Linked DNA regions of Homo sapiens: regions 1, 2, 4, 5, 6 and 7 are each linked to region 3. The links are contacts of gene promoters, found by promoter capture Hi-C in blood cells and fetal thymus (Javierre and others, 2016). All regions are on one chromosome and are shown on one strand. The core of a region is centred on a gene start or on the middle of the fragment in contact, and the rest is flanking DNA. Distances in the headings are between cores, read along the strand shown.

What was found. The method cuts DNA at HindIII sites, captures the fragments that hold promoters and counts their contacts. A CHiCAGO score of 5 or more calls a contact.
Region 1: the fragment with the promoter of GMNN here is called in contact with the fragment with the promoter of H1-1 in region 3 in 1 of 17 cell types (monocytes); the score reaches 5.3 in monocytes.
Region 2: a contact is called between a fragment that was not itself captured here and the fragment with the promoter of H1-1 in region 3, in 1 of 17 cell types (M2 macrophages). The highest score is 7.6, in M2 macrophages.
Region 4: a fragment that was not itself captured here is called in contact with the fragment with the promoter of H1-1 in region 3 in 1 of 17 cell types (M1 macrophages); the score reaches 5.1 in M1 macrophages.
Region 5: a fragment that was not itself captured here is called in contact with the fragment with the promoter of H1-1 in region 3 in 1 of 17 cell types (M0 macrophages); the score reaches 5.3 in M0 macrophages.
Region 6: a fragment that was not itself captured here is called in contact with the fragment with the promoter of H1-1 in region 3 in 6 of 17 cell types (naive CD8 T cells, fetal thymus, total B cells and 3 more); the score reaches 8.0 in naive CD8 T cells.
Region 7: a contact is called between a fragment that was not itself captured here and the fragment with the promoter of H1-1 in region 3, in 1 of 17 cell types (fetal thymus). The highest score is 5.5, in fetal thymus.

The regions. Positions count from the first base shown.
Region 1 is chr6:24,772,676-24,776,386 of GRCh38, forward strand. It overlaps GMNN (geminin DNA replication inhibitor), which reads left to right and starts at 2,262. Exons shown (of 7, transcript NM_015895.5): 1 at 2,262-2,569. RefSeq lists an enhancer at 3,177-3,256. The HindIII fragment of the contact is 2,242 bases long and covers 1,183-3,424 here.
Region 2 is chr6:27,774,565-27,778,107 of GRCh38, forward strand. No RefSeq gene overlaps it. Among named protein-coding and RNA genes, the nearest start is that of TRQ-CTG6-1, 15 kb to the right of the region's middle. RefSeq lists a silencer at 3,319-3,378. The HindIII fragment of the contact is 595 bases long and covers 1,546-2,140 here.
Region 3 is chr6:26,016,363-26,020,022 of GRCh38, forward strand. H1-1 (H1.1 linker histone, cluster member) reads right to left here and starts at 1,425. Exons shown (of 1, transcript NM_005325.4): 1 at 670-1,425. The coding sequence starts at 1,370. The coding sequence ends at 723. It also overlaps the pseudogene H3P26. RefSeq lists enhancers at 1-617, 3,601-3,660. The HindIII fragment of the contact is 5,921 bases long and covers 92-3,660 here.
Region 4 is chr6:24,721,178-24,725,007 of GRCh38, forward strand. No RefSeq gene overlaps it. Among named protein-coding and RNA genes, the nearest start is that of C6orf62, 3.9 kb to the left of the region's middle. RefSeq lists enhancers at 1-500, 246-1,039, 631-680, 731-820. The HindIII fragment of the contact is 1,539 bases long and covers 482-2,020 here.
Region 5 is chr6:24,737,683-24,741,094 of GRCh38, forward strand. No RefSeq gene overlaps it. Among named protein-coding and RNA genes, the nearest start is that of LINC02828, 2.9 kb to the right of the region's middle. The HindIII fragment of the contact is 163 bases long and covers 1,468-1,630 here.
Region 6 is chr6:27,479,643-27,483,194 of GRCh38, forward strand. TRD-GTC2-6 (tRNA-Asp (anticodon GTC) 2-6) reads left to right here and starts at 32; the gene lies at 32-103. RefSeq lists a silencer at 85-144. The HindIII fragment of the contact is 3,440 bases long and covers 1-3,046 here.
Region 7 is chr6:27,755,921-27,759,748 of GRCh38, forward strand. No RefSeq gene overlaps it. Among named protein-coding and RNA genes, the nearest start is that of TRV-AAC1-5, 4.4 kb to the left of the region's middle. The HindIII fragment of the contact is 2,133 bases long and covers 1,051-3,183 here.

The sequences.
Region 1 (3,711 bases), core at 1,012-3,511, 1.2 Mb before region 3:
TTTCATCATTTCACTTCTCTTAGCTGTGCTTATACTCATCAAAGAAATGGTTTGTCAAAAAATAAATTGGTGCAATGTAATTATTATTTATCCATCTGAATAAAAATAAAAATAAAAAAATTGGTGTAAATATTTGTGGTTGCTAAAGTTTTGTTTTGTTTTGTTTTGTTTTGTTTTTGAGATAGAGTCTCACTCTGTCACCTGGGCTAGATTGTGGTAGTGTGATCTTGGCTTACTGCAACCTCCACCACCTGGGTTCAAGCTATTCTCCTGCCTCTGCCTCCTGAGTAGCTGGGATTACAGACGCATGCCACCATGCCTGGATAATTTTTGTATTTTTAGTAGAGACAGGGTTTCACCATGTTGGCCAGGTTGGTCTTGAACTCCTGACCTCAGGGTGATCCGCCAGCCTCAGCCTCCCAAAGTGCTGGGATTACAGGCATGAGCCATGGTGCCTAGTGGTTGCTGAAATTTTTATGGCTAAACATTTTCCAGTATTTCTACCTCCTTATCCCATCATTTAATCCTTTTTAAATTAATATTTTAAAAATTTTATTATTGGCCAGGTGCAGTGGTTCACGCCTGTAATCCCAGCACTTTGGGAGGCCAAGGTGGGCAGATCACACGATCAGGAGTTCAAGACCAGCCTGGCCAACATAGTGAAACCCTGTCTCTACTAAAACTACAAAAAATTAGCTGGGTGTGGTGGCGGGCACCTGTAATCCCAGCTACTTGGGAGGCTGAGGCAGGAGAATCGCTTGAACCCGGGGGGGGCAGAGGTTGCAGTAAGCCGAGGTTGCACCATTGCACTCCAGCCCTGGTGACAGTGCAAGACTCCGTCTCAAAAAAAAAAATTATTATTGAAAATCCCAAACAGATATAAAAGTAGAGGGAGTGAATAAAAAATCTTCATGTACTCATCCATACTAGCCTCAGCAGTTATCAACACAAGGCCAATACTGTTTTATTCGCACCAGTGGTTCTCAACTGGGGATGATTTTGCCCTGCGGAAGGTTATCTGACAAGGTCTGCAGACATTTTTGGTCTTCACAATTGGGATGTACTCCTGGTAGCTAGAGGGTAGAGGCCAGGGATACTGCTAAACAGCATACAATGCCCAGGACAGCCCCCACCACGAACAATTTGCCCAGTCTAAAATGTCAATAGAGCCCATACTGAGAAAGCTTGATTTATACCTTTTCCCTTGCTTCTCTCAATAATTATTTCAAATAAAATATATGGTATAAAATTTCATCTGTAATTACCATTTATAGGTAGAAGCTATTACAATAAAACCCACAATATTGTCATTACAACTAATCTCTTTTTTTAACCCATTGCTCATCAGGTAACCTTAAACAACTCATATCTTACCATCCCAAAATATTCAGTCAGTGTTCAAATTTCCCTTGGGTATTTTTTTAAATACAGTGTTTAGTTCAGACGAGATCCATACATTGCATTTGGTAATATGTCCCTTATTTGTACTCGATAACGCCTTCCTTCTGCTTTTTATTTTTAAAATATTTTAAAATTAATTTTTTTTTGAGACAGGGTCTCCCTTTGTCTGTAGTCCCAGCTACTCGGGAGGCTGAGGCAGGAGAATCGCTTGAACCCGGGAGGCGGAGCTTGCAGTGAGCCGAGATCGCGCCACTGCACTCCAGCCTGGGTGACAGAGCGAGACTCCGTTTCAATTAAAAAAAAAAAAAAGAAGGAAAAGGCTAGACGTAATTATTACCAAGGTGTTTCTGCTCCTTCAAATTGCAACAGCAGTTGTAATTTCAGTGCCTAGAACAGTAGTAATTGGCACGTATAAGGCGCTCAATGAATAGCTGCAGGATTAACTGATAATCGGTTGTCTCCTGAACAATTCCTACCGCACCACACCATAGTCAAAACACAAAAAGCCAAAATATAAAAGCCCCTAATACAACTACGAGTCCGTGGAGCCAGGGCTTTACACAAATATATGTCGTGTACTACATATTAATATATATGCACATACAATATTTTGTTCTTCTGGTGCTAACGACTAATGGAGGCAAATCTTTCTCCCTTTCGTAAAGGGCTAAAACTTTGCATTTTAAGGAAGTTCCAAGAGCAGGGTCGGAGGGGAGGGTCAAAGGGCACAGGCCTCCCAGCCCGCAGAAAACCCCCACGGTCCTCAAGTACTCGCTACCGTTGACCGCGCAGGCGCAGGAAGGGGCGGGGCCGAGGGAAGAGGCGATTCGCGGGATCCAGAGGCCCCGCCCCTCGTCTGCGTCAGTTGGTCACGTGGTTGTTCGGAGCGGGCGAGCGGAGTTAGCAGGGCTTTACTGCAGAGCGCGCCGGGCACTCCAGCGACCGTGGGGATCAGCGTAGGTGAGCTGTGGCCTTTTGCGAGGTGCTGCAGCCATAGCTACGTGCGTTCGCTACGAGGATTGAGCGTCTCCACCCAGTAAGTGGGCAAGAGGCGGCAGGAAGTGGGTACGCAGGGGCGCAAGGCGCACAGCCTCTAGACGACTCGCTTTCCCTCCGGCCAACCTCTGAAGCCGCGTCCTACTTTGACAGCTGCAGGGCCGCGGCCTGGGTAAGGGCGAAGGGGTTGTTGAACGGTCGCGGGAGCCGGGGCGGGGTTGGGAGGTGAGTCGAGGGACTGCCCCATTGGCTGGGTCGGTTTTGGCGCGCTCTCACTTCCGCGCTTCCTATTGGCTGGCTGGCGCAGTTCCCGAGGCGCGCGCCGCGGTTGGTAGGCTCGGACGCGCGGGGCCACACTGCCCGCCCCCTAGCCTGGCGCTGGGCCTCCGGGACAAGTTGGCTGGGTCCGGGCTTGGGGACTGCAACGCGGGTAAGGGACTCAGCCTGGGCTTGCCAGCTGTGGGGATGAGGCGAAGCATCCATCCTCTTGGCAGTTAAGTGGCTGGTCCTGATCTGAGGGATCTGCAAATTTGGCTCATGGAAAGAGGTGGCTGAATTCTGCGTCTCCCATTAAACGGATACTGGCGTTGTTGATACGGGTTTCGCATGGACCCTGTCCTGTGCCAGGGTTTTTAATCTAGCTATTAAAGGAACTGGAGAATAACAAGTAAGGGTTGCAAGGTCGCTGACAGGCGTGGGAAACTTGTGAAGGATTAGAATGCTAAGTGGCTTTCAGCTTTTTTCACACTAAGGTACGTTTTACGTCGCAACCTAGGACACAGCTATCTAACCAAATGAGACGTGATGGAAGCAATGTTTCTCGTCTCTTCAATTCCATTCTGTTCAGTTGCATTTTTCTAAGCAGTGTTGCTCATGACTCACTAATTTCGAGATCACGGCCCGCGACCCGCAGTTTGAAGAACATTGCGTAGGGTCTGTTTACTGGGGCCCGAACACCATTTTCTTAACATGAAATAGAGTAGAAAATAGCAGGATGCCCGCACAAATTAGATTGTTTTGTTTTCTAAGCTTTTTTTTTTTTTGAGACGGAGTCTCGCTCTGTTGCCCAGGCTGGAGTGCAGTGGCAGGATCTCGGCTCACTGCCACCTCCACCTGTCGGGTTCAAGCGATACTCCTGCCTCAGCCTCCCGAGTAGCTGGGACTACAGACGAGCACCACCACGTCCGGCTAATTTTTGTATTTTTGGTAGAGATGGAGTTTCACCATATTGGCCAGGCTGGTTTCGAACTTCTGACCTCAGGTGATCCGCTTGCCTCGACCTTCCAGCACTTTGGTGATCATGCAGGTGATCCG
Region 2 (3,543 bases), core at 593-3,092, 1.8 Mb after region 3:
AGGGGACCCGGGGGACCAGCGTTCAGCATATGGAGGATCCCACCAGCCTCTGAGTTCCCTTAGTATTTATTGATCATTCGTGGGTGTTTCTCCGAGAGGGGGATGTGTCAGGGTCACAAGACAATTGTGGGGAGAGGGTCAGCAGACAAACACGTGAACAAAGGTCTTTGCATCATAGACAAGGTAAAGGATTAAGTGCTGTGCTTTTAGATATGCATACACATAAACATCTCAATGCTTTACAAAGCAGTATTGCTGCCCGCATGTCCCACCTCCAGCCCTAACGCGGTTTTTCCCTATCTCAGTAGATGGAACGTACAATCGGGTTTTATACCGAGACATTCCATTGCCCAGGGACGGACAGGAGACAGATGCCTTGCTCTTGTCTCAACTGCAAGAGGCATGCCTTCCTCTTATACTAATCCTCCTCAGCACAGACCCTTTACAGGTGTCGGGCTGGGGGACGGTCAGGTCTTTCCCTTCCCAAGAGGCCATATTTCAGACTATCACATGGGGAGAAACCTTGGACAATACCTGGCTTTCCTAGGCAGAGGTCCCTGCGGCCTTCTGCAGTGTTTGTGTCCCTGGGTACTTGAGATTAGGGAGTGGTGATGACGCTTAACGAGCATGCTGCCTTCAAGCATCTGTTTAACAAAGCACATCTTGCACCGCCCTTAATCCATTTAACCCTGAGTTTGACACAGCACATGTTTCAGAGAGCACGGGGTTGGGAGTAAGTTCATAGATTAACAGAATCTCAAGGCAGAAGAATTTGTCTTAGTACAGAACAAAATGGAGTCTCCTATGTCTACTTCTTTCTACACAGACACAGTAACAATCTGATCTCTCTTGCTTTTCCCCACAGAGAAGGCCCATGCAACACAGACCTAAACCCCTTTGAGAGGAAAATAGGGCATTTGGTGGAGGGGAGGGGAGGAGTCCTGGCTTGCGGCTATAAAAATGTTTTTCCACTCAGATTATTTTCTGAAAGAGGCTGAGATCAGGCACCTGAGTCACTGAAGGGTTCATGCTAGTGGAGTGAGAGGGCCAGGGGAACAAGGAAGGTGATAAATCTCATCTCTATTTGATAGGAATGCTGGGTAGTCATAGGAGAAACATCAAGCAGTAATTTCACATAACAGCAAAAAAGGAGCTGTTAAAATTAGCTACAAGGACAAGAAAGAACTTGGGCTGATAAGACCCTAACAAACAGGATGGTGGCTAAGCTGTCTGAAACCGTCTGGGTCCAACATGGCGCTGGATTTGACCCATGCCCTACCCAAGACCTAATTATATGCTAATTACCATACGAAATTACACACCCACCAGCGCCCTGACAGATCGAGTACGCCCATATTTAATATAAAAATGGGTGGCATCTCAATTTTATGAAACCTTCGCCTTTCCCCCAGAAAACCTCATGATTAGTCCACCCTCTAATTACAAGAGCCCATAAAAATAGAAAACTCAAACTCTGTTGGGCACGACTCATTCTCATGAGCTCACCCACACTTCCCTAAGTGTGTACTTTTGCTTAGCAATAAAAGCTTCTTGCCTTTGGCTTCATTCTGACTCCTCCCTGAATTCTTTCTTACGAAGGTGTCAAGAACCTGGAAACTGGCTGGGGCTGGGGCTGGGGTCTCACTGGCTTCTGGAAACCCTTCTGAGCCCTCTGGCAACACCTGTAGTGTAAGCAGCAATTCAGTGCTGTGATGCCTCGGTCCCAGACCTTTTTGGCACCAGGGACTGGTTTCATGGAAGACAGTTTTTCCATGGACAGGGGTTGGGGGAGAGGGGAATGGTTTCAGGATGATTCAAATGCATTACATTTATTGTGCACTTTATTTCTATTATTACATTGTGATATATAATAATTATACAACTCACCATAATGTAGAATCAGACGGAGCCCTGAGCTTGTTTTCCTACAACTAGATGGTCCCATCAGGAGGTTATGGGAAACAGTGACAGATCATCAGGCATTAGATTCTCATAAAGAGTGGGCAACATAGATCCCTCAAATGGGCAGTTTACAATTGGGTTAGAACTCCTATAAGAATCTAATGCCTCAGATGATCTGACAGGAGGTGGAGTTCAGGCGGTAATGAGAGTGATGGGGAGCAGCTATAAATACAGATGAAGCTTCACTGGCTCTCCTGCTGCTCACCTTCTGCTGTGTGGTCCGGTTTCTAACAGGCTGCCACTACCACTGACCAGTACCGGGTCAGTGGCCCAGGGGTTGGGGCTCCCTGCTGTGATAGTTAATACCCATGGCTCCAAATCTAGTGGCCCCACGTCAGGTCCTGGTGGGACCTGGTTCAGTTTTGCTTAGGACTCATCTTGTCCACATGAACCATTCCAGCCTGCTTTCTCATGCTCTTATTCTGGGATATCTTCCTAACCCCAGTATATCTGCCTCAGTGTCTCACCCTGTCTTTTTAGAAAAGGAAAAAAAAAAAAAAAGAAAGAAAACGTAAATGAAATTGGTGGAGAGTAATGGCCACCAATCCTATGCCTGACCTGGAACTGGAAACACAAGGCTTTCCTGAAGACAGAGAAACTCTGAGAAAACGGGAAAAGCAAGTTGGTGAAAAGAGCAAAATAAAAGTTTCAGAAGGGACTTTCTTGACATAGCACAGGATGAAGGAGTATCAAAGGTCTCTGTTTGGGCCCTTGGCTGGGAAAGCCCACATTCGCTGAAAGTGAAAGCTGTCCGCAGACATAACACCAAAGGGTTAGGGTAGGAAGCCCCTTTTTATGAATTCAACGGCAGGGATAGGGGTGGGGATAAGGTGGGGCTGCGTGGGTACACCAGGCGCCCGGAAAGCTGCAAAAGGCGTTAGGTCAATATGCAAAAATACTTCTAGGTCAATACGCAAAAATACTTCTAGTGTTGGGAAAGAAATTTTATTGGGGACAGGAAACAAGCGAACTGGCTAATATACTTTCTCTCTAAGGAGAGTAGTCTGACTTAATGCCTTCCTCGATTCTCTCTAAGGGCTTCTGAGGGCTTTGCTTGACTTTTCTCCTGTTTCTGCTCCTGAGCCCAAAGCAGCTCTTAAAGAAAGAAATGTCAGGTTTTGAAGCATGTTTGGTAGATTTGGAAAGGGCAACTCGCAACTTGAAGGGGATTGTTGGAATCAACTGGTTCTAGAGTGAGCTGATCTTAAGAGGCCAAGAGGAAAAAAGAAAAACCGGGAAAGAAACAGTGAAAGAAAAACAGAAAGAGGCAAAACAGTGTAACAACAACAACAACAACAACAACAAAATGGCTGATCACCTGCATGATAAATAAGAAGAGTAGAAGCGTGTTTTCCGTTAGCAGAGTGGCGCAGCGGAAGCGTGCTGGGCCCATAACCCAGAGGTCGATGGATCTAAACCATCCTCTGCTAAAGAAGGGTGCTTTTTTTTTTTTTTTTCCCCCCCCCCTTCTTGAGGAATTACCTTCCACAGTTGTGGGGAGAAGATGGCCTCTAAATATATATTATATATATTATATCTCTCTCTCTCTCTCGCTCTCTCTCTCTTAAAAGTCCTTTCAGA
Region 3 (3,660 bases), core at 175-2,674:
CCTTTGTCCTGACAAGGGCCTAAACCAAGTCGACAGCCCGTAAGTGCACCCATGGTAAGGCGCTGCACAAAGAAAGCATTTTGCGTTTCAAAGCTTTGTCATGATGGCGCTGCAGAAAGCAAGCGAGCTAGGCCTACCTGGCGGGGCTTTCAGAGGACGCCAACGTGGGCGCCAGCCACGCCAGCAGGGTCACCGTCCTTCCCAAGGACAGACAGCTCGCTAGCCACTCCTGTGGAGAGGGCGTGGTTAAGCCATATATTTTGCCAACTATCCCAGAAGCATTTCTTAGGACCACCCAATTTCGGAAAATGCTACTTTAGCAATATTGACCCCAAAACGCAATATCCCCACTTTAACCTTGTATAATAAAAAGCCTCAAGCCTGGGACTGGGCTTCAACCTTGGTTCAATACGGTTATGACTAATTAGCTTGGAGTCGTGAGACGCGGGACTTCCGGCTACCGAAACCCAGGTGACTTTAAAACTCGATTTTAACTCGGTGCATTTGAATTCACCTTGCTATCTTTGATAGATTGAGTAGTAAATTCTTACTAGATGAGGCTATGTTAAAGTTCTATCGACTCTCCAAGTGATTCTAATATAATTGAGGGCGTGTTGCATTTGCTTGGGGGATTTCATCTGTGTACTACAGCTCTTTTCCTGAAATGCGTAGGTGGCTCTTAAAAGAGCCGTTGGGTTACTAGAAGAAACTTCTAACTGAATTTACTTTTTCTTGGGTGCCGCTTTCTTGGGTTTGGCAGTCTTTGGCTTCGTCACCCTAGCCTTGGCCGCCTTGGGTTTTACAGCCTTAGCTTTAGCAGGGCTTTTAGCTACTTTCTTGGGCTTTACAGTTTTGGGTTTTTTTGGATTCTTGGAGGATTTCCTTGTTGCCGCAGGCTTTTTAGCCTTTTTCGGAGTCTTGACGCTCTTTTTGCTAGCCCCCGTGGCCTTTTTGAGCTTTTTAGATGCACCCGTTGCCTTAGTTTTTGTAGCCACCTTTGAGGCGCCGGGCTTGGTTTCCACGGAGGACGCCTTCTTGTTGAGCTTGAAGGAACCCGAGGCTCCGGTACCCTTTGTCTGCACCAACGTTCCCTTGCTTACCAGGCTCTTAATGCCCAGCTTAATGCGGCTGTTGTTCTTCTCCACGTCGTAGCCTGCGGCCGCCAGCGCCTTTTTAAGAGCTGCCAACGACACACCACCACGCTCCTTAGAGGAGGAAGCAGCCTGCACGATCAGCTCTGACACGGAAGGGCCAGCGGGTTTTTTCTTGGAGGCTGCTGCAGCCTTAGCAGGTTTCTTTGCCTTCTTGCCAGCTAAAGGTTTCTCAGGAGCAGCAGAAGCGGCGGGGGCGGGAGGCACTGTTTCAGACATGGTGACTAACACAGCACACCAAATAAAGTGGTATAAACCTGACGAAGCAGGATGCGAAAAAAAGGCCCCAACGCAGCCTATTTATAGGGTGGGACTGCGCCGTGATTGGTGCCCGTCAGTGCCCGCCCCTCGCGCCCTAGCGCCCCCTGCGCGCTGCCGAGGGTTTCGCCCAGTCTCAGAAGGCAGCTGGGGGCCTCTAGGGCCTATGGTCCTGCTCCCCTCAACGCAAGCAAACACACAGAAAAAGCCGCTCTGGTTGCCTCATTGTGAAGGAAATTGTAGGCAGACTGCCGCCCAGTAACATCAGAGGGTACCGCTTCTCTCTCAAAAAGCAGCTCTTTTTTAGGGAGTAGGTTGAGAGGGGGCGGTTTACAAATGCAGTGCCACAAGCATCCGAGGAGTTTTATTAGAAATTTTTAGAGGTCCGTTGCCAGAGATGTTAGTTTTTAATTTGCAAGAAATGTAAAATACAGTGTTTTGAATAGTTGCGGAGGGAGAGAAAAGTGCGAGTTTTAGGCCGTGTTAGGGCCAGTTGTCATCAACTCTATTACATTTTCTGGCAATGTTTTAGAGCGATGTGTCTCGCGAATACCTTTCACGTCAAACAAGAATGAATCGTAGACAACACCAGAATTCACAAACGCTGCAATTAATACTCAAACTGCAAGTGTGGAAACGTTTCTGCACTTGCAACTTATTTCCACAGTCCAATGTGGGATGCACTTCAGGAATTTCCAATGCCCTTTTCATCCATACAACATGCCCCAAATTGGTATTAAGGTTTACAACCTGTGTTCCATGTCAGCACACGCAATCAGCGCACCATGACATGGTCAACTCATTCTTTTATTCAACAAATATTTATGGGCCTCACAAGCCTGCGAAAGGCGTTAAATGCTGGGTCCACGAAACCGGTTCCCTGACAGGCATTCTGCTGGGGAGTTAAGTCCACTTAGTGTGAAAGCAAACACGGGTGATAAATGCAAGCACACCCTGGGGATAAGATTTTATGGTAACAACCCTTTAACTTGTTTGTGGCTGTTAAGTGCATTTCAAAGTATCAATAAGCTAAAACGATCTCACATTGCCAATCAGAGACTCAGCTAATGGGAGAATAAAAAACTATTAAATCGACATCCACTTCTACAATCCTATTCTGGATAACCCCCTAGCACAGCACAGCAGAGAGTGAGGTAATGCGGTCTTATTTCCGCTCCTGCTGTGGTAGTTTTCAAATAAGTCCGAACCATGCTAAGTAACCTGAGCTTTTCCCCTTTTTGTTCAAACAACGTGCCAACCAAATAATGGAGTGGTCCCAGATAAGTATTGTACCCATCTTCTGCACCAGTGCTTCCTACGTCCCATTTTATTGAGAAGGCATGCATTCAAATATTTCACGTAATTTCTAAAAATTTGGAAAATAACGGTTGGAAACTCTACATCTTGGTTTGACGGCTAGTCAGTTATGAAACACAGGTATACAAAATTGGAAGATTTTTGTAAGTAAACCCTTTGTGAAAGATATAAACCTTTCTTAGTGTAATAAGCGAGGTATCTGAAAAAACGCAACTTTTGAAAAGGAAATACTCCTAATTATCTGATTCAGGAGTTTCCACTTTAAATAATGGGTTCTGCCTCCCTTTTTTCTATTGGGTTAAACTGGTTTCAAATAAAATGGGAACGCTCCATGCAAATGAAGGATGATAGATCTGCTTTCTAAATGGCTGTTCAAGAAAATAGCCTAAACCAATCAAAAGATAGAATGTGGCCTGTCTCTTGTGAATTTAAAAAGGTCACAATCCACTTTTCAGTGTTTTGAGATTTTCAAAATGATTGCATTAGCTCTTGGCAATGCTAAATTATGTTCCTTGCGAACCACTATCCAGTTTCTCTTGGGCCAAGTCCACCTCCTGCTCCGCAAGAGGAACAACTCCCAGCTGGTGGTACCTGGCGGCAGTGCTGGAGAAACGCCATTTTGTGACTGGCAGAGTACACCTAGGCTTTAGAAAACAAAAGCTGCAGAACGCTGCAAGTTTAGGATTCAAAGAGCATAATCAAGAGAAAGACGTCTCATAGAAAATGTTTCTGAGTAATAGTGTAATCCTACTATGTTTGAGATGCTTTGTAGATTTCAATAACACTCCTAAGTCAATTAAAGCATTACAAAGGAATCCAATTCTTGTGAAAGGTTTCAGAAATTCCCGTAAAGGGTACATTTCCGGAGAGGAGGTGAGCAGTATTCCCTCTTTTTTTTTTTTTTTTTTTTTTTCCTAAAGAGCTGAAGGTTATA
Region 4 (3,830 bases), core at 1-2,500, 1.3 Mb before region 3:
GGGGCTCCCCGCCACTCCTTCCGCCCCCCTTCTTCAGGAAGTCCCAGTCTCCTGAGTTGGCTCTTCGCCCCGCCCCGATGTCGTCATAAAAGCACGCCCTCAACCATCCTCAACAAAACACCCGGATGGAGTCGCACTTCCCGAGTCTCGTCAGCCTCTCAGAGTCAGGCTGGGCGCGTGACAGAGCCGAACTAGCGACCTGGGCGGGCCAAAACTGCGGAAGTCGGCGGAGAGTGGGCGAGGGTAGGGGCGGAGCAAAGAAGGAAAAGGAAAGTGTGTGTTGGAGATTGGAAGATTCTTATTTCGATTCTTATAATTAGTTAGTCCTGGGGGTCGGCCCCGCGGTATCCTGCGGCAACAAACCTAGAACTCAATTCGACACCTGGAATTTAAACGGCGTGCGGGAGCAGATGTCTCATGTTAGTGCTACTTGCCTCTGTCCCCACCCCGCCACGTGCGCAGGCAGGGAGGGCGGTCCTCAAGCTTCGAACAAGGTCAAAGACGTTGTTCAGACGTTGCTGCTGTGGCTTAGGAGAGGAGCAGCCCAGTCTGACTCGTGGATTTTTACCCACTGCTGTCAGAACACACTTTCTGTTAGAATCCCCCAAGACCTCAGACCTACAGCCTGCCCCTTAGGTGGTTCACTGTCTTCATCGAAACGTTTGCCGCCGAGTCGCACGTCCTTGGCACCAAAAAGCGTTGAGTCCATTTTTCAAAGCTCTAATGTGCTCTTTAAAACACAGTTATGTAAGTACTTAGCAAAGGTCAATACTCCACATAAGCAATGCTTATATACTCATTGGCTACTCTGAGATTTTAGAAGTCCATTGGGACCCCAATTACTACTTTTCACTTCGTGAAGTCAAAACAGATCAGCTGTAATAACATTATTTCAGCCATGAGCCAAAAGAATAACTGGTACCCACCCTTCAATATAAATTGTCCAGAACCAAAGGATGAGTCCTGAGATTTCCAAATAACTTCTAATCTCGGAAGATACAGCTTGCATTTTGCTAGTGCTTTGCTGATTTGTTTTCAAAATCATGTAACTATGGAAAGCTCACAGAGATAAAACAGAAAATGTCACGTAGTTTAGAGCATTGGTTTAAAAAAGAAAGATTTTTAAAAGTAAGCCGAGCATGGTGGCTCACGCCTGTAATGCCAGCACTTTGGGAGACCGAGGCAGGCGGATCACCTAAGGTCAGGAGTTCGAGACCAGCCTGGCCAACATGGTGAAACCTCGTCTCTACTGAAAATACTAAAATCAGCCTGGCTTGGTGGCAGGCGCCTGCAGTCCCAGCTACTCGAGAGGCTGAGGCAGGAGAATCGCTTGAACCCGGGAGGCGGAGATTGCAGTGAGCCGAGATCGCACCATTGCACTCCAGCCTGGGCAACAGAGTGAGACTCCGTCGGAAAAAAAAAAAAAAACAAACAAACATATGAGACATACAAGCCAGTATGATCTTCAGGTGATCCGCCTGCCTCAACCTCCCAAAGTGTTGGGATTACAGGCATGAGCCACCATTCCCAGCCGGCTTATATGTTCTTGACCTGGCCTTGACTTGTATCCATGATCAACTTCATGGAAGAATTTTTAAAATAACAGCTTTATTGAAATATAATTCACATACCGTATTTATCTACTTGAAGTGTACAATCCAATGGTTTTTAATATATTCAGTGTTGTGCAGCCATTACATTACCCCAAAAAGAAACCCTGTACCTATTAGCAGTCACTTCTCTTCTTTCTAGTTTATGTTCTGTCTATAGATTTGCCGTTTCTGAAATTTCATATAAATGAAATCATTTAATATGTGGTCTTTTGTGACTGGCTTCTTCACTTAGCATAATGTTTTCAAGGTTCATCCATGTTGTAGCATGTATCAGTACTTAATTCCTTTTTATTGTGGAATAATATGTATTGTATGAAATTCTATATTCATTCATCAGTTGATGGACATTTGAGTTGTCTCTGCCTTTTGGCTGTTATAAATAATGCTGCTATGAACATTTACTTAAAAGCTTTTGTATAGACGTATGTTTTTAATTCTCTTGGGCATATACTTAAGAGTGGAATTACTGGGATATATGTTAACTCTATCTTTAACCATGTGAGAAACTGCCAGATGTTTTCCAAGTCTGTTGCATCATTTTACATTTCCTCCAGCAGTGTATTCCAATTTCTCCACATTCTTGTTATTATGTCTTTTTTAGTATAACCATCCTAGTGGGTATGATGTATGTCATGGTGGTTTTGATTTTCCTTTCCCCAACGATTAATGATGTTGAGCATCTTTTCATGTGCTTATTGGCTGTTCTAATATCTTCTTTGGAGAAATGTCTATTCAGAACTTTTGCCCATTTTTATTTATCTACTTGTTTATTTATTTATTTTTTGAGACAGAGTCTCGCTATGTTGCCCAGGCTGAAGTGCAGTGGCATTATCTCAGCTCACTGCAACCTCCGCTTCCTGGGTTCAAGCAGTTCTTCTGCCTCAGCCCCGAGTAGCTGGGCCCACAGGCCCCCACCACCATGCCCGGATGATTTTTGTATTTTTAGTAGAGACGGAGTTTCACCATGTTGGCCAGGCTCGTCTCAGACTCCTGACCTCAAGTGATCCACCCACCTCGGCCTCCCAAAGTGTTGGGATTACAGGTGTGAGCCACCAAGCTCGGCCTTTTACCCATTTTTAATTTAAAAAATTGTTTTTTTAATTATTAAGGTGTAGAAGTTTTTTATTCTAGATACAAGTTCCCTGTCAAATATATACTTTACAAATACGCTCCCCTATTCTGTGGGCTGTCCTTTCACTTTCTTGGTGATATCCTTCGCAGCACGGAAGTCTTTAATTTTAATAAAGTCCAACTTATCTATGTTTTTCATTTGTCCCTTGTGCTTTTGTTGTTTTATCTAATACACCATTGAAGAATTTTTTCACTACTATAATAATCCTGAAAAAAACAGTATGGAGCAGATGTTGAGGAAAAAATGAAGTTTTTAGTTTCAGCTACTGTGAAACAGAATTGGAGACACCTGGTCACAGCTGAGCACATCCTATGAAACTGTGTTATGGGACTGTGCTAGGTCTTAATGAGATGAGCCAAGAAATAGCAGCAATGTCCCCTGGAGGACGAAAACACTGCTAGCTCAATTTTCTCTGTAACTTGAAAGGGCTATAAAATAAGAAGGTAGTCGAAGGAATTAAAATTTTTAAAAGCCGTGACCAAACGTTTCTCAATGAAATTCAGATAAAAGTCAGAGAGCATTCACTTAAGATTTAGCTTCTTTAACTGTGGAGAAATGCATTTCATTGTGTTAGAAATGGCTTACTTAGGGTTAGGCTGCTTCAAACACAATAGGATTTGTGGAGTGATGATTTGATGGTGGCACCTTGGCTAAAAATATCTGCTTAACTTCCCTTTTGGAGTTTTAAATTATACCACTAGATACATTGAAATTTCCCTGGTTGAAATGCAGATATCACTGCAAAGGTTACATTTTAATGAAATAACACCTTATAGAGATTCTGTGCGAGCCTCCTTTCTGAAGAAACACAATGCAGGCCAGCTTGGGCGGGCTCCTGTGTTAACTTCCAATCTTTAAAGAAGGACAACCTCGGATAATCCCAGTCTCTGACATTTATAGCAAGTTAGGAAATGATTTCTCAAACCTGTGCTTGTGTAGCCTAAATAAATGACAATAAGATAAACAATAAAGTATTTAACAATTGGCCTTCACTTTTCTAAAAAGAGCCAGCCTTTTCTTTTACCTTTAAAACATACATTGTCTGTACACACATGCTCTTCTTTTACAGAAATCTAGTTTTCTCA
Region 5 (3,412 bases), core at 299-2,798, 1.3 Mb before region 3:
GTAAGGAGTTAAGAATATTCATGGCAGCACAATTATTATGTATACATAAACATTAAAAATTAACAAATTAGAAGAAAGAAATCAGTGCCACCAGAGAATAGAAAAATGTTTGAAGAAAAAAGGCAATGAATGACGAAGTGTGTATTTCTTCAAAGTACTAAGGTTAACAAATGTCAAGCACAATTCTATAACTGGCTAAACTTTTATTCAGGATGGAAAGAGTAAAATAAAGCATTTTTATATATTAAAAAAAAAAAAAAAAGAGGCCGGGCGCGGTGGCTCATGCCTGTCATCCTAGCACTTTCGGAGGCCAAGGCGGGTGAATCACCTGAGGTCGGGAGTTCGAGACCAGCCTGACCAACATGGAGAAACTCTACCTCTACTAAAAATACAAAATTAGCTGGGTGTGGTGGCCCATGCCTGTAATCCCAGCTACTCGGAAGGCTGAGGCAGGAGAATCGCTTGAATCCAGGAGACGGAGGTTGCGGTGAGCCGAGATTGTGCCATTGCACTCTAGCCTGGGCAACAAGAGCGAAACTCCATCTCAAAAAAAAAAAAAAAAAAAAGAATATTTAAAGCATCATTATTCATAGTAGCTCCAAATAAAACATAACCTAACCTAAATGTCCATCAACAGTAGAATGGATAAATAAATTGTGATATAATATAGGCATACAAAGAAATGTTTTACAATAATAAATGATAGCTACATGCAACAACATGGATGAATCCCACAAACATTACATTGAGCGAAAGTAGCCAGACACAAAATAATGCTAACTATATAAGTTTGTATAATACAAACTATATAACCATATAAGACTATATTTATATAGGTTGAAGAAAAACAAATCTAATCTATAGTAGCAGAAGTCAAGATAGTGATTACCCTTGGGAGGAAAAAGAAAATAGTGCCCTAGTTATCTACTGGTAAGTAAAAAACCACTCTGAACTTAGCAACTTCGAACAACCACCACAATGTGCTTTGCCAACAAGTCTGCAATTTCGGCAGGGCTTGGAGGGGACAGCTCATCTCTGCCTCAACAGCATAAGCTTGGACAGTTCAAAGGCTGGGGGCAGTGAGGGCGGGTGTTGTTGGGGACTTGAGACTTGGAGGTGAAATCACTGGGAGTCTTACCCACTTACATGTCTGGCAGTTAATGCCGACTGTTTGCTGGGACCTCAGGGACTGTTGGCCAGAATACCTACACTTGTCCTCTCATGTAGCTGCATGGTTTTTCTTTATCATGGTGGCTGGATTCCAAGAGCAAACATCCCAAGAAACAGGAAGAGAAAGCTGCCAGTTTCTTAAGGCCTGGCCTGAAAACTGGCACAGTATCACTTCTGCAGTACTCTATGGGTTAAGCTGTCAATCTTGATTCAAGGGCAGGAGATAGAGACATTATTTCTCGATGTGAGGAATGGTGTCAAAGTAGTATTTGGGGACTATATTTTATAATCGCTGTAAGCTTTAATTAGGAGCACATGAGAGGAGAGGGTGCTTCTGGGGTTCTGGTTTCTTGAGCTAGGTGGTGATTATACAGGTATCTTCACTCTCTAATGATTCCTTCATCTGTACATATGGTTTGTGCACCTTCCTGAGCATATGTTTCAACTCCAATAAAAGAAAAGCTTAAAAAGGATGCAAACATTCTTTATGTCCAGATATAGAACAATCCCTAAGACATAGTAACATGCTATCATGGTTAAGTACTGAGCTCTGAGGGCTTGCCTGCTGGGTTCAAATCTAGTTCTGCCAATCCTAGGCTTTGTGTCTCAGTTTTCTCATTTGTAAAATGGGGATTATAATAGCTCTTACTCCAGGAGGTTATCTCAAGGATTAAATGAGTTAAAACATGCAAAGCATTCAGAATACTAATAGAAAAATAGAAAGTGCTTGAGAACTGCTTGCTATTTTTGTTATATTAAATGAAAATTGCAATTTGTATAGGTAAAGCAGTGTCTACAGTATGATGCCTTATATGGTTTGGCTGTGTCCCCACCCAAATCTCATCTCAAATTGTAGCTCCCATAATCCCCTTGTGTCATGGGAGGGACCCGGTGGGCAGTAATTGAATCATGGGGGTGGGTTTTTTCCATGTTGTTCTCATGATAGTGAATAAATCTCACAAGATCTGATGGTTTTATAAAGGGCAGTTCCCCTGCATACCTGCCCTTGCCTGCCACCATTTAAGATGTACCTTTGCTCCTCCTTCACCTTCTGCCATGATTGTGAGGCCTCCCCAGCCATATGGAACTGTGTGTCCATTAAACCTCTTTTTCTTTATAAATTACCCAATTGTGAATATTTCATCATAACAGTATGAGAACAGGCTAATACACTGCCATTTGTGGGAAAATGAGTAGACGTACCCATGGGTACAAACTAGCTATAAGATCAGGATATACAATAAACTAATAACGTTGGTTGCCTGTGGGAGGGAGATTTTTCACAGTGTAGACTTTGGTACCTTTTGAATTTTCAACTATATGAAGGCTGCATCTGGGAAATGGGTCTGGGTAGGGAAGAGGACTGTTGCTTTTTTATTGAGTGAAAGTAGCCAGACACAAAAATTTAGTGTTATATTTTCTACAATGTACATGATAAACATACTAAAAGAAAAGACAAGATGGGTCAGATTACAGAGGGCCTTATAAAAGACCAGGCATGGAAATTTAGAGTTGATTAAGGCCTGAAAATGGCACTGGCAATGGTGATAAAAGGATGAATTTAAACACTTAATAGAAAAAATCTAGAAAGTAAAATATCTGGATAGAAAATGATAGAGGTAAGTGAAGAGGACACCCAAGTTTTGGTGCGAGTAACTGTTACGGACTGAATTGTGCCTCCCCAAAATTCATATATTGAAATCCTAATCCCTAGTATGCTTCAGAATGTGCCTGTATTTAGAGATAAGACCTTTAAAGAGATGATTAAGGTTAAAAAATTATTAGAGAGGTGAAAAAGTTATTAGAGTGGTCTCCAATCCAATATGATTAATGTCCTTATAAGAAAAGGGAGAGAAACCAGAAATACATGCACAAAAGAAAGGCCATTGCTGGGTACAGTGGTGCATGCCTGTAATCCCAACAACTTGAGAAGCTAAAGCAGGAGCATTGCTTGAGCTCGGGAGTCTGAGGCAGCAGAATGAGACCCTGCCTCTGGTGCAAAAAATAAAATAAAATAAAAGCCATGTGAGGACCCACCAAGAAGATGGCCATCTGCAAGCCAAGGAGAGAGAGTTCAGGAGAAACCAAACCTGCCAGAATCTTGATCTTGGACTTCTGACCCAGAGAACTGTGAGAAAATAAATTTCTGTTGTTTTAGCTATCCAGTCTGTGGTGTTTTGTTATGGCAGCCTGAGCAGACTAAGACAGTGACTAAGAAAGTGACCATGCCATGACCACAGGC
Region 6 (3,552 bases), core at 77-2,576, 1.5 Mb after region 3:
GATTTCCTAAGAGCTCCATTTTCACGTCAATTCCTCGTTAGTATAGTGGTGAGTATCCCCGCCTGTCACGCGGGAGACCGGGGTTCGATTCCCCGACGGGGAGGAGGCTTAAACTTTTTTTTAGAAAAGCACACTTCCGGTAAACACAGTCTCTAGTCTTCTGGGCAAATGTTGGGTTCTCTTTTTCTTTAGCAGAGTTCTTTCAAACCAACGAAATACTGATCGCAAAAACCATAAGCTGTAGAAATCATGAGGTTCTGTAATAGCAAGAAAATTTCCACTCTGCACTGTAATCTCCATCACAGTGGAGAAACCGGGTAGATACCATCTTACCCAAGTGATTGAATCAGTATTGGGACGAATCTACATTATATACCTTTTTTACAGGATGTGCTCATGAGAGCACAACGTCACTTTTGTGGTATTCTTGGCAAAAATATGTAATCTAAATCAGAAAACATCAGACAAACCCATATTGAGGGAGATTTTAACAAAATAACTGACTTGTACGCCTCAAAAACTGCAATTACTTTTGCATCAACCTAGTAACAGGCAAGCAGGGAGGAAAAATAAATAAATAAATAAATAAATAAATAAACAAATAAATAAAATAACAAAGTTACAGAACACAAAGAAAGGCTGACTAAATAGTCCACATTATAGAAGATCTTAAAGATATGACAGCAACATATGGTCTGGAATTTTTATCTTAAAGGACATTATTGAAATAGTTGGTGAAATCTCAATAAAGTCTATAGATTTTATAATATTATGAATGTGAATTCCTGATTGTATTAATTGTTCTATGGTTATAGAACAAAATGTCTTTAAGAAAATTCACACCTATTTACAAAATACGTATTTAAGGGTAAGGGGAGGTATGTGTCTTCAAACTCACTGTCAAATAGTTCAGAAATATACATTTATGTATATATATGAGAGAGAGAAGGAAAAGAAAATATAGGAATATCCTTAATGTGCTAATATTGAGGGAATTGGGGTGAAGGGTGCTCAGGAATTATCTGTATTATTCATGTACTGTGTCTGTCAGTCTAAAATAATTTCAGAATGGAAAGTTAAAAGGAGAAAAGCCTAATAAAACTATAAATGAAAATATACGAATTAAAATGTAAAAGGGCAAATATACAATTTTGAACAATGCATATGACAAGAGTGACGACTACATTAATGAATAGGAATTTAGAACTGATGAAGGAGTGGGATTCAAAATGTTATAAGTGAGCAAGAAAATTCATAACATGTGACAAAAGCTACATAAAGAGTGAATGCCTGAAACAACATTGTTTCGTAATGATTACATGTTGGAATATGAAAACAAATGGTACTAAATTTCAAAACAGCAACGACAATATAAAATGGAAAGGTATGGCGAAATCCAAATCATTCTAAGCTCCTTTATAATAAGGTAGGAATTAGAAGTGTACCTAGTATATACCCTCGACCAACGCTGAATGGATGAATATTAAAAGCAATATTTTTGTGAGCCATAATCAAAGCCAACAGCATTGCTTCTTTAATGAAAGAATACTCTTCCAGCATATAACAATATGTCTGATTTTGTTTTAAAAATACTTATTGGCCAGGCGAGGTGGCTCATGCCTCTAATCCAAGCACTTTGGGAGGCTGAGGCGGGTGGATCACCTGAGGTCTGGAGTTCGATACCAGCCTGGCCAACCTGCTGAAACCCCATCTCTACTAAAAATACAAAAATTAGCTGGGTGTGGTGGCGGGCACCTGTAATCCCAGCTACTCGGAGGCTGAGGCAGGAGAATCACTTGAACCCGGGAGGCGGAGGTTGCAGTGAACCAAGATTGCAGCATTGCACTCCAGCCTGGGCGACAGAGCAAGACTCTGTCTCCAAAAAAAAAAAAAAGAAAAATAATTATTATTAACATTTTTGTCATGAAATTTTGGCCATCAAATTTAAAAGTTAATATTATTGTGCAACACTTTCAGCCAATGGATTCTTTTTTTCGTTAACACTATTGAACAGTAGAGTGATTGATGCCTCATCCTTTTCACCTAACATTGAATCTCGTTTGTCTCTATTACTTCCTTTTAATCTATTATTTCTTTTTTAATCTAGAAGAAAAATGATTCATCGTGGATAAGAACTATAAAGCAATTGTTTTGTTTGTTTGTTTGTTTCTGGCTTTTTTTTTTTTTTGAGACAGAGTCTCGCTCTATCGCCCAAGCTGCTGTGCAATGGCGCAATCTTGGCTCACCACAACCTCTGCCTCCTGAGTTCGAGCCATTCTCCTGGCTCAGCCTCCCGAGTAGCTGGGATTGCAGGCGTGTATTTTGAGTAGAGACAGGGTTTCACCACGTTGGCCAGGCTGGTCTTGAACTCCTGACCTCGTGATCTACCTGCCTCAGCCTCCCAAAATGCTGGGATTACAGGTGTGAGCCACCAAGCCCGACTTAAAGCAACTGTTTGAAGGCACTGATAAGCTGTCAACCCAGGCAAGGCTTGACAAACTACAATCCTTGAGAGAAGGGAAGCACATTATATGAGTTTGCACATTTGAAAGTGCTTTCCTCCTGAAGGTGTGTCCCGTATTGCACCATTGTGGAATAGACCTCATGTGGAAAGAGGCAGTTGTGCTGGACTAAGGAGATACTGGTCAGAGTTTGGGGCTACCAACGTGCATAGAACTTGATGGTCAAAATTCAAGTGATGAGGGAACCACAGAGAAAGATCTCAAATTTGTATTATAAATTCTCCTTATATTACTGGCTAATTCCTAAGTTGTACCTACACAGGAAGATGTTCCAGTACAGGAAAGAGCAACTGGAAGGCTAATGATCTGTAGAGATCCAGTAGCTGCATGGTTCTAGGGAGACAGAGGTTGATGTTCATGCCTCTCCCAGTTGGAGCCCCATTGGTAAAATGGCTGTTGTTTTGAGACTTCAGAAATACTAACCCTTAGCACTAAGTGATAAACCTTTAAAGTAAGGACCACATAAAAGGAGTAAGGCTATGCCTTCACAGCAAGGAAAAACTAAACTAGACAAATTGTAACAAAGCTTCAGTCTTTGTTGTATCCGGGAAAAACTACCAGAAGACTCTGAATGTTTGGAAATAAAGCAGTTTGTGTCCTACACTCTACAGGTCAAAGAAGAAAACACAATATAAATTTTTAAATGTTTTAAGCTGAAAGATAATGAAAATAAGACGTATCATAATTTGTCTAATGCATCTAAAGCTGTTTATAGAGAACAATTTTTACTTTTAACTACATGTATTACAACAATAGAAAGATTGAAAATCCATGATCTAACTCAAGAGACTATAAAAAGCCAGCAATTTAAATGCAAAAAGTACAAGGAGCTATTAAAAATAAGTGCAGAAATCAATAAAATGGAAAGCAAACATACATCACAGAAAATCAACAAAGTAAAAGTTTGGTTCTTTGAAAAGATTGATAAAACGAATGTACCCTGAATAAGACTGATTTTAAAAAGAGGGTAAGATAACACATGAATACTAGCATTGGGAATGAAACAGATTATATGTATGTGTGTGTGTGT
Region 7 (3,828 bases), core at 867-3,366, 1.7 Mb after region 3:
AGGACAAGATTACACAATCCTAACTCTCAAGGAGAAGAAAGAGGAACATGAGCAGCCAATATGCCATAAGCAAAAAGTGGAGCAACAGACGTACAGATTGCGAAGCATTTGGATGGTAGTATAGAGAGGAGGCATCTTCTTAGTCCTTATGAACTGGCAGGGCAGATCTGGCAGGGATCTTTGGAGCCAAAATATCTGAGTACAATTCCTTCCTCTGCCACTTTCTCATCATATGTAGGGTTTCAGGCAAGCTATTTGGCTTCTTCATGACTCTGTCTGTGCTGGTAAAATGGATATGGATACAGTGTGTACCTCATAGAATTATCATAAACTCAATTAAGAAAAACTCCCTGAAGTGTTTCAGACAGTGCTCAACTTACAGAAGTAGTTACTGCTTTTATTTTTAGTATTACTTTTAGCCTTGTCAAGCCTCCTGAGTCAAGATCTATCCCTGTCATTTCGGGTTTACATTTGAGCAAGTTAAGGCTTGAACAATGTGCTGAGGTTATGCTAGCTAGGAAAGGACACCACCAGGTGTGTTTGTCTCCAGAACTGGTGTTCTTGACCACCATGCTATACTAGGTAGTTTTATAAACCCCTGTTTATGACAAAAAAAGATTATAGAGAATATTATGGACCTCCTTATTTCCATGATCCTACTTCAACAATTAGTCTCTCCTCCCTCTGCCAAGCCCCCATGATAATTTAAAGCAAATTTAGACATTTTCATCTAGCAACAGCTTTTTGTGGCATTTTCATAGCATATGCTTCCATTTAACTTTGTAGTTAATGAGGAAATTTGTTGAGCTGTTCTCCCCTGGGCGGGAGAGATGCCATGCAGGGAGTCCTAAGCTTCCCATTGTCCCTCAGATCAGTAAAGAAGACCAGCCCTAAGCTGCTGACCACAGGTTCATGGGACTCTTCTGAGGGAATGTGAGGCCCAGAACTTACGCTAGTGATTCTCCAGGTGGACTATTCCTAAGATTCCTTGCCATACCCCCTTCTAGTGCAGAGGGTCTCTGGTATGGCCCACAAGTCTTAATTTTTAGAAGCTTCCAGGTGATTCAGAAGCTGAGGACCTTTGGGAAGATTTTGACAATCCTTTCATTAATGACAAATTTGTTTCATCTTAAAAAACAAAACTTCATCCTTGTATGTGTGGAGGAGGACACTATAGTGAAATTAAAGAAAAAAAAAGTCAAATTATCTGCTCCCTCCATCTACCTGAGGTTTTCTTGCTTGGCATTTGCAAAGAAATTGGGCGCATGGGTGAATACTTTGATTGCTATAAAGAGTAGAGTTTGGCCGTTGATTTTAGTACACTAAAAGTGCAAGGGCAAGAAACATACCAGCACCTTGACAGTTTCTGGGAAGAAACTTAACGGCACCTTCTGGACCCAATCTGCGTGGCGCAGTGGCCTAAAGAGGCGACCGAACCTGCATCCCTAGCTCCGCCTTCCCGGTCCCTGCACACCCCGGCAGCTTCCGCGCGATTCTTCCCGCCCCCGACACCCGCCGCCACACAAAGGCGCTGCGTCCTGGCGGCCAGCGGGGGCTTAGTCTAGGCCCGGCAGGGTTTTCTGGAAGACCAGAGGGCCACCAGGTCACCGAGGTGGGAAGTGAAGAGAGGTTCGACGCTGCCTCAGGCCTGGGCCTGGCCGGTGGGAGACACAGCAAGGACTCTGGGAGCCTGCAGAGCAGAGGCCGCCGCGGGGCCGGGCCCCCGTCTCCTCCTCAGGTCCAAGACCAGAGGGTCTGCAGGGCCCCAGAGCAGCTGGCCGCGCTCCGCTTCCCACCGCGCTCTCTGCTGGAACTCATGTGGTTGTTTATCCTTATTTTGCTAAATTTCTTTATTTGCTGTAACAGTTTGTGTGTGTGTGTGTTTGAGTGTGTGTGTGTAATTTTCAGGGTTTTCTATATATAAAAATCATGTCACGGCCAGGCTTGGTGGCTCACACCTGTAATCCCAGCACTTTGGGAGGCCAAGGTAGGAGGATCGCCTGAGCCCAGGAGTTCGAGACCAGCCTGGGCAACACGGGCAACATAGCGAGACCCTAGTCTCTAAAATTTTTTTTATTAGCCGGGCATGGTGGCAGGCGCCTGTGGTCCCAGTTACTCCGGAGGATGAGGCAGGGTAATCGCTTGAACCAGGGAAGTCGAGGCTTCAGTGAGGCATAATTGCTCTGCTGCATCCCAGCCTGGGTGACAAAGAGAGATCCCATCTCTCTCTCAAAAAAAAGTCATGTTATCTGTGAACATAGATAATTTTACTTTTTCCTTGCCAATACTGTGCTGAATAACATGGTGAAAGTGGGCACCCATTATTCCTGATTGTAGGAGAAAAATTTTCAGTCTTTCGCTGTTGAGAATGATATTAGTTGTATGTTTTTCATAATTGGGCATTATCAAGTTGAGGAAGTTTCCTTCTATTCCTGGTTTACATTGTGTGTGTGTGTGTGTTTTGTTTGTTTGTTTTGACAGAGTCTTGCTCTGTCACCCAAGCTGGAGTGCAGTGGCCGCGATCTCGGCTCACTACAGCTTAGACCTCCAGGGCTCAAGCAATCCTTCGACTTCAGCCTGCCAAGTAGCTAGGACCATAGGCGTACAGCACCACATTTAGAAGTCCCTGAGAAAATTATCTTGGAGGAAAACTCGCAAGTCCGACTATTGGTTTTCCAAGGAAGCCAGTCTCGCCTGTGAGGAGGGATCCTGCTCGCCCTGGGAGCCTACTCAGACACCATGGGGAATGGGGGGTGGGGCTCAGAGCGCGCAGGCTTGGTTTTTTTCCCCCTCCGAACTCCTGAGTTCCAGTGATCTGCCTGACTCAGCCTCCCACAGTGCTGGGATTACAAGTGTGAGCCACTGCGCCTGGCCTATTACTTGTTTTAATAATAACAAAAAACAGCAAAATCTTGCAGAAGGTTGGAAGGTAACCAAGCAGCTTAGCTTCAAACCACGTTTTAAAAACTTTGTTTCTTTTCTTCTTTCTCCCCAGTTTCTAGACATAGCTTTGAGACAAACTGCAGATGTGCTTTCTTTTGTCGTCAATTACTGCCTTGGAATGGGCATTAAAACTGCCTTCCCTTTCGCATCTTATGCCCCCATGCCTTATGCTCATTTATTTACCTGGATGCTTGTTAAGCTCATACCATGCCCACTTATCTGGTCATATATTTCCTTAGAAGCTTCAGGGGCTGAATCCTGATGCAGACCAGACATCTCCAGAATTCTCTCTCCAGTAGGAGATTAATTCAAGGACAATATTCACTCTTGGCTAGAGATTATCTGCAAGATTGACTGTCATTAATTTGTAACTTGATTGGGCCTACAATGTCACTGGCCCCTTCACCAGGTGAAACAATAATTCAAGATAAGCCATCAGAATGAGACACCCACTGGGCACCTCCTGCCTCTTGCCCCTCTGCATTACAAGCTCCTCTCCTTGAAATGCTTGGCCTCTCTCCAGAAATTGGAGAGTGGCAAATTTTGGCCAGCCACTCTCCCCATTGCTAGCATGGATAATAAAACTTACTCTATTTTTAATTACACCTCATTCCTTTTTTTTTCTTTTTTTTTTTTTTTTTTTTGAGATGGAGTCTCACTCTGTTGCCCAGGCTGGAGTGCAGTGGCACGATCTCAGCTCACTGCAGCCCTGCCTCCTGGGTTCAAGCGATTCTTCTGCCTGAGCCTCCTGAGTAGCTGGGAGTACAGGCGCACGCCAGCACACCCAGCTAATTTTTGTATTTTTAGTAGAGACGGGGTTTCACCATATAGGCGAGGCTGGTCTCAAACTCCTGACCTCGTGATCCGTCCGCCTCGGCCTCCCAA